Regions from separate parts of the Homo sapiens genome. Here region 2 is linked to region 1. Evidence: promoter capture Hi-C in 16 types of primary human blood cells and fetal thymus (Javierre and others, 2016). All regions are on one chromosome and are shown on one strand. Each heading gives the region's core, a stretch centred on a gene start or on the middle of the fragment in contact. The rest is flanking DNA. Distances are from core to core; before and after follow the strand shown.

The links. Contacts are between HindIII fragments. The CHiCAGO score rates a contact against its expected background, and 5 or more counts as called.
Region 2: a fragment that was not itself captured here is called in contact with the fragment with the promoter of MAPK8IP1 in region 1 in 1 of 17 cell types (naive B cells); the score reaches 5.5 in naive B cells.

The regions. Positions count from the first base shown.
Region 1 is chr11:45,884,037-45,887,606 of GRCh38, forward strand. It overlaps MAPK8IP1 (mitogen-activated protein kinase 8 interacting protein 1), which reads left to right and starts at 1,615. Exons shown (of 12, transcript NM_005456.4): 1 at 1,615-1,885. The coding sequence starts at 1,785. RefSeq lists a silencer at 1,477-1,876. The HindIII fragment of the contact is 6,698 bases long and covers 1-3,570 here.
Region 2 is chr11:46,003,340-46,007,263 of GRCh38, forward strand. The region is part of intron 6 of PHF21A (PHD finger protein 21A); the gene reads right to left. Among named protein-coding and RNA genes, the nearest start is that of LARGE2, 83 kb to the left of the region's middle. The HindIII fragment of the contact is 1,841 bases long and covers 574-2,414 here.

The DNA.
Region 1 (3,570 bases), core at 365-2,864:
TCTTTGGAGCTAAGATAACTTTGCTCTTGAGCAAAAGGTTCTGGAAGAGGGAGTTGTCCTTTACATCCACCCCTGACCTGCTAAGGATGTTCCCTAGCTGAGGCAGGTCTACATTCTAAGGAACGATTAGTAGCCATGATGGCAAGACTGCTTTCCTGAGAGGAAAAGCCAGGCACCATGGCAGCAGATGATTACCGTGAGGGCCCAGTGAAAGGGGCCTGATCACGAAAGCTGAGAAAGTAGTGGCCACCCCTCTGGGCCCCAGGGACAGGGAAAAGAGAAGCAGCCATGACCTTTGGCTCTAGGTATTGGGATATTCTCAGGGCTGGTGGTCGGAGGTTGCCTTCTGCACGGAAGGTGCCTCCAGCTCCTTGCTAGGTGCCGCACTGAAGGAAAGGGGCCAGCATGACTGGTCGGCAGTCCAGATTTGCAAATAGGACTCCACGAGTTGTGGCACAGTTTGCTCTGCACGTTTTCTGCCCTGTGGACAGGGTCTCTAGGGTTCTCTCGAGAGACCAGAGAAGCCAATGAGGTTTGACCAGAGGCTCTACGACCCAGCAAAGCTAAGGCCCTAGCCTTGGCAGTCCGTACTCTGAAATAACTCAATCGGGAAACTCAGGGACTTGAAGGCCTGGAAGCCCAGGAATAACACCCTCTCGAGGGAGAGACAATGAGGAAGAAGCCATGGCCAAAGCCTAGCAGGGATGGAGGTGCCAGAGGGAACAGAAACAACCAAAATGATCCCAAGAAGTCAACAGTGGGAGGAGAGGGAAAGGCGCCAAGTCTTAGAATGTGTGTCTGTGGGTGCAGAAGAGGGGTGCTCTGCAGGAAATGCAGTTGAGGCGCTAAGAAGGAGAATGCTGGGAAGGTCCTGGCGAGAGACCGAGAAGCCTGGAGGGCTCAATTCACCACGAGTAGCTGTTTGGGGCTGAAGAGAGATTTGGGTCAATCTTTAGAGAAGACAGCCTCTAGGGAGAGTCTTTGGGAGGGTCCCCTCAAGGTAAAGGGACAGGACTGGGGTGAGGGCTGGATCCCAGCGCAGGAGGTGGAGTGTTTCTGGGTCTCAGGCAACACATTTGTGTTACGTTACATTCTCACAACAACCATGAGAGGGACTGCTATTGTCCCATTTCACAGATAAGAAGACCAAACCTTAGTGCTCTGAAGTCACTAATGCAAGGCCCCACTGCCCAGTCACTTGTGGAGCCAGTGAATTCACACCACCTGACTCCAAACCTGTACACTTTAAGAGCCCACTGACATCCTCTCCTTTCTCTGCCTTCCTCCACGACCCTCCTTTTCCGCCTGCCTTCTTGGTCTCTGCTGCGGGGGGCCAACCTGGACCTTGGGGTCCAGTGTCCTGCCATTAGTCATCTGATACCCGGGCACTAAGCCCAACCGGAGGGACAAAGCCCACACCGGCCACGGGGTGGAGGAGAGTCGATGTCGGATTTAGGGCGGGGCTGAACCAAGCCCAGGGCCGCGGGGGCCGTGGCTTCAGCACCGCGGAGAGCGCCATCTCCGGGGGCGGGGCTGGCGGGGTGGGGGCGGGGCCTGGGCGGGGCGCGCGAGACCCCGGCCGGGTCCCGGGGGCGCGCGCGGGGCGCTCTCGCCAGTCCCGCGGGCCGTGCGCGGTGCTGTGCCGCGCCCTGCCAGACACAGGTGCGCCCGCCTAGCCCGAACTCCGCGGCGGCGGCTGCCCTCTCGCCGCGCCTCCGCCTCCTTCGCAGCCGCCGCCTCCTCCGCGCCGCGCTCCGCCCGGATGGCCAGGGCTGTGCCCGAGAATGGCGGAGCGAGAAAGCGGCGGCCTGGGAGGGGGGGCCGCGTCCCCGCCCGCCGCCTCCCCGTTCCTGGGGCTGCACATCGCTTCGCCTCCCAATTTCAGGTGAGAGTCCCCGGCCGCCGCGCGCCTCGCCCTTCAGCGGGGACTGATCCGCATTGGCTGCCCTGCCCGCCCCCCACCCCAGAACCTCGGGAACCCGGGAACGAAAGGGCTGCGTGGGAGTGGGGTCTCTTCCCGGGACAGAGCCCCCCTCAGAAGCCCCGCCAGCCTCAAGTCCGGACTGGTAGCCGTTGCATGTTCACGAGGCTGTTCCCTCCGCCATTCCTGGTCCTAGGCTGGGAGGTCTGCGCTGGAATTGGAGGAGGGGGCTCGGAGGCCTCCTTCTCCCCAACCTCCGGGCTGCGGCAGGGTCTGGGGTCGGGGTTGCGATCCCGGAGCGGGCAGGCAGGCTGCATCTTAGCCTGTGAATAGAGCTGGGAACAGCCTGGAGGGGCGCGGGTCGCAGTTTCCTGGGGCAACGACATTGTTGGTGCTGGGAGGAGGATGTTTGAGCCCCTCCCCGAGCCCTGCCTGGCCAGATGGGCCTACCTGCCAGGCCTGGCGTGGCCGGGCCCCTCTCTGGATTGGGCAGCACCGACCTAGGCAGGTGTGTCTCTCAGGGCAGGCGCTGAAGGCTCAGCCTCAACCAGGGGAATCCTAGGCCCGGCTGCGGGAAGGGAAGTCGGCTCGGCTCTGGAGTAGCCAGGGCCAGCGAGGGTGTCGAGGGGATCCCTGCTGGGGTAAATACCCAGAACCCTGACCTGAGCTCCTATTCCACCACCCCCACCCCCCAATCTGGTGTTAGGCCCGATGCATTTCAGAGAAGTGAGGGGTGAGTGTTGTGTGGAGGAGGAATAGATGTACCTCCCCCATAATTCTGAACCCTAGTTGGTGGGGAGGAAGAGGCCGAAGTCACTGCTCCCGGCCTAGAGAGGGAGGCTTAGACATACCCCATTGTTTCCCCATCTCGAGAACTGGCGCCTTCCCCTCTCCTGGGGCACCACCCCAGCCAGGCTCCAGCTGGGCTGTGGTGCCAGCCCCTCCTGGGAGCAAGGGGTCACTGGCTCCCAGGTCCTCAGGTGGGCAGAGACCCCTGGGGATCTCTAATAGCATCATCAAACTCAGAAACCTTCCCTGAGGCCCTGAGCTGAGCTGGAAGGACCAGAGGGGGCCAGATGGAGGAGGCCAGGCCTGAAGGCTCCAGGGCTGCAGCTCTCTGATAATGCCTTAGACTGAGGTCTGAGACTCCACCTGGCATGGTGCATGAGGCCTCCATGCAAATACTGCCTCCCCACCTGGAGGCCTCTGCAGTGGAAGCACATGGGGCTTAGAGGGACCTGGGTTCAAATCCTAGCTCCACTACTTTCTAACTGCATGACCCAGGCAGGTTTTTGTCCTCTCTGGGTGCCATCTGTTAAGTGGGCTAATTAATATTGATTCTTGCCTGGAAAGGAGAAAAAGCACATCAGGTCAGTGTTCAACAAGTGTCAGCCCCCACACTAGCAGACAACACTACGGCTCGCTGCTGTCCAGAGTGTCTTCCCAAGGCCCCTCCTTTAACCCTCATAACTGCCCCAAGAGAGGGTAGTGACCTGCCCATTTTATAGATGAGGTGATTGAGATTAACAAAGGCAGGGTGGCTCATCTGGAGACTACAAAAGAGTCAGAGACTAAGGCTACACTGGGACCCAGGTCTGTGCGTGTTTAGTCCACTCTACGTCCCAGCCCTGCCTCTGGCCCAGTGGGCA
Region 2 (3,924 bases), core at 244-2,743, 120 kb after region 1:
ACTCAGACTCTCTTCGGTGTTAATACTGTTACAAAATGAGGATAATACCTATCCTCTCCCCCACTGCTAAAAGAAAAAAATATTTTATAAAACTAAAGAGTCATAAAATATTCAATATTCATAGTACTAATGACACTAAAACAAGAAATTGATAGCTTAAAAATGCTGATGAACTTGATTTTTAAAACACCATAAAGCTGCCCTGCTGCCCATAATGATGATGACATTTTCACGAAGGGCAGAGTGAGAAAACGCTACAATTCTCACTAGGATGATGACTAGTACTTATAGAAGATTAAAAATAAGAATGATATATTATGTAGAAGAGAAGTAAAGATGGAAGTATGAGTATGGCTCAGCACACTACAGAGCACATGAATTTTAATTTGAAAAGTACTGGCAAGGCCTTGCATGCAGGCCCACACAAGTGCTTTTAAAAGCTTCATTACACTCTGCAGACATTTGCCCTTCATCAATTGCTTCCTATGCCAGGATTTCCTTTTTGAGTGTTGCAACCTAATATTCTTCACCCAGGCAACCACAGCCTATTTTGGAAAGGTTCCCTATTTCAGAAGCTTCAGTGCTGTTTCCATTTGGAAATACATCTTTATGAAAATATGTATCATCCTCAGAACAAAAATGCTTCAATATATTAAGTTTCAGCTGTAAGTGATATTTTTAGAAAAGTGGTAATTTCAGAATCTCTGCTTCAAAATTACAGAGTTGGTTTTTTTAAACGGAGTCACAAAGTAGAAAATTAAAAAGATATACCAATGAATAAAATCCTGTCTCCCCTTTTTCTTATCCCATTTCATTTAAAAATGTTTAAATTTATTTTCCATAGATTCTTAAAATCATTGAATTATGCATACTGGTAAGAAATTTCATCCAATGTTCATCTTCATAAAAACCAAATAACTCAATGCAAAAGAGCTCTTAACAGTCAATTTTCTAAGAAATGGTCTGACATCACAGATGGTGTTTTCTATATAACAAAGTGAATCAATTTGAGATGTCTTGGACACTGTAAAAAACTTGTACTTTTGACCAAAGGAAATGGATTTCACTTTTAATAGATAAGAAATAAGAGACACTGGGGAGTAGGGAAGGGGTAGAGGAGAGAAGGAAGTCCTTGTTCTAAGATTATATTAAAAGCTACTTAAAACATGTAAGTGACAATATTTCATAAACTGAAATATTTTATCAGTAGCTATGACAGAATATTCTCTATTCTTTTCTTCAACATAAAAGTTTTAAAGAACTGTGCTCATTTGACCTCTTATCAAACAAAAACTCACTTTTCTTCATATTGGTTTGCATAGCACAGACTATTACTTTTTCATAGCACTTAACTTTTACTGTGGATGAGGGCTGTATCTGCCAGGCCTAGAATGCTTTCCATTGAACTGTCTCCTCAAGACTAAAGGACTCATCATCTAAAAGATGTCTTTGTAAAATACAGTTTATGCCTCCTGAAAATACCATCTCTCCCTCTCTCCCATTCACTACACACATACTTACATGTGTTCGAAATTTATTCCCCTTCTTTATCATGGCTACCCTCAAGAAAAAACACAGGGAAACAGATAAGCACTACACAACAAAGTTTACTTTTTCCCTTTACAATAATATTTGTCTCTTACTGCAAATGTCTCTGAATATGGAAAATGAGATTATGCAGTTAAATTTTAACACATGCATGTATACACCCAACTAATACAGCAGTCCCCCACATCAGTAATTTCACTTTCTGCAGGCTCAGTTACCAAGAGCAACCGCAGTCCAAAAATTCAGGTTGAGCATCTTTAATCTGAAAAATCTGAAATCCAAAATGCTCCAAAATCCAAAACTTTTTGAGCACTGACGTGATGCCACAACTGGAAAACTTCACACCTGACCTCAAGTGATAGATCATAGTCAACATGCAGTCAAAACTTTGTTTCATGTACAAAATGATGTAAAATATTGTATAAAATTTATACAAATTTATGCTTGGGACCAGAAGTGTTTCAGATTTTGAGATTTTTCAGACTGTAGAATATTTGCACAATATATTAACGCCTTGTATATACCAAATAATCTTAGGCAGTTGCTTTTTCTGGTTGAAGGTTTCAAGATAATAAGAAAAGCAAAAACCTCATTTGCAATATTAACTTAATTAATGGGCACCAAATGTTCAGACCTTCCTGTTCTGACTTATAAAACAGGTTATTTTGACTCCATTAGCAAATGCCCCTGATTATTCTCAGCTTTTTATTACATACTAGGTAAATGAAACTATCAACGATCCTTTTACTAAGAAATGTGAACTGCCTTATACTGGAATAGTTAAATAAACATTAGGGGAACCATCAGCACCAACTACTTACTCCCTATGAGCAATGAATAAAAGAATAATATTTGTAGCACAATTAAGCTTCCATAGCTCAAGACGGATCATCCCACCAATTCTGAAACAATTTACTCTAGCTGTATGAATCTGATCATAAAGAAAAAAGAAACACTTCTAATGAAATGTGGAAATGCTTTTTTTGCATGTGAATCGTATTCATTTCTTTAAAAAACTTCAACTTCAGAACTCTCAAGAACAGTAAGAAAAATAAAACATACAATTTTAAAAGTTTATTTGGAGCCTACAAATGCCTGTGGAAAAGCACAATTTTAAACTTTGAAAATGGGCTGGTCTAATATAAAACAGTCTTTGTAGATAAAAAATAATTCAAATTCAGACAAGAGAGAATTAAAGAATTAGGATGTTCACTGTTATTTTACATTTACGATTAAAGAACCAGATTAACTGACAAGTAGATCACTGTTGACATAGTTCCTATAAATAAGAGCCAAATGATTTTAAAATTAAATGTTATAAACTTCATGCTTTAAAAAATGTGTACTCCCAATTTTCATTTGTTTTCCAATGCTTCCAGAAGCCCAAACAAGAATTATTTTAATAGGGCAAAAAACCATGAGAAATCAGTAAATTCTTAATCTTTCGGTTGTATATACAATTAGGGCAAAGGCTAAGTCAAATCCAGAATTAATAAGCACCTAACGAAATATTGCAACTTGTTATAGTTCTTTAGTTTGAATAAATCTGCCCTCAGTGTTCTATCTTCCTAAACTTTCTGAATAACCTCCACAAATCACGCTATATAAATAACAAGGAGTCTAAAAGTTTACTGCCACATTCACTCTCTAAAGATACTAAAATCAGTTCATCTACACAGGCAGCTGTCTGCCTGAGCTAGAGGATGAAGTTATGCCTTAATGAACTAACGCCATCTAGTGGGATCAGTGAGATTTCAGCTGAAACTAGTTTACAACAGGTTACTACAATCTATTCAGCTGGTCAAATGTCTTATTTAAAAAGATACACTTGTATTAAGTATTGAACTGTCTTAAACGCCTATTAGAATGTGATATACTTGCCTACAATAAAAATGGCACAAAAATATTTTAAGACCAACAACCCTCCCTTGGAATAATATTTCTATTCTTTCCTTCAAAGGCACAAAATACAAATCAACAGGTACTAACAATATGTATTTTCAAAGATCTCAGAAAATGCAAAGTCAAAGTCAGAACAACAGTCAGTAAAATTTAAAGATAACAATAACAAGAGCTATTATTTACTTATTAAGTGCCTAGCATATGCCACACACTTCACAGTTTTAATCTTTAGAGCGTTCCTGCAAGCTCGTTTTACAGGTGATTTCCCATTACAAAAACACTTAAATATAGAGTGACTAACTTAAAAAGTGATCTTTCTTCCCTCCAACCAACCATAACGTGACGAGACATCTATCAACACTAGCTCACTGCATACCTACCATGTGTTCAAAAACATGCAAAGTGATAGTGAGGTTCTAAGAGATGAGAAAAGGGCCCCCTGTCTTTTCAAGGAATCCAGGTAGCGCTGAAGCC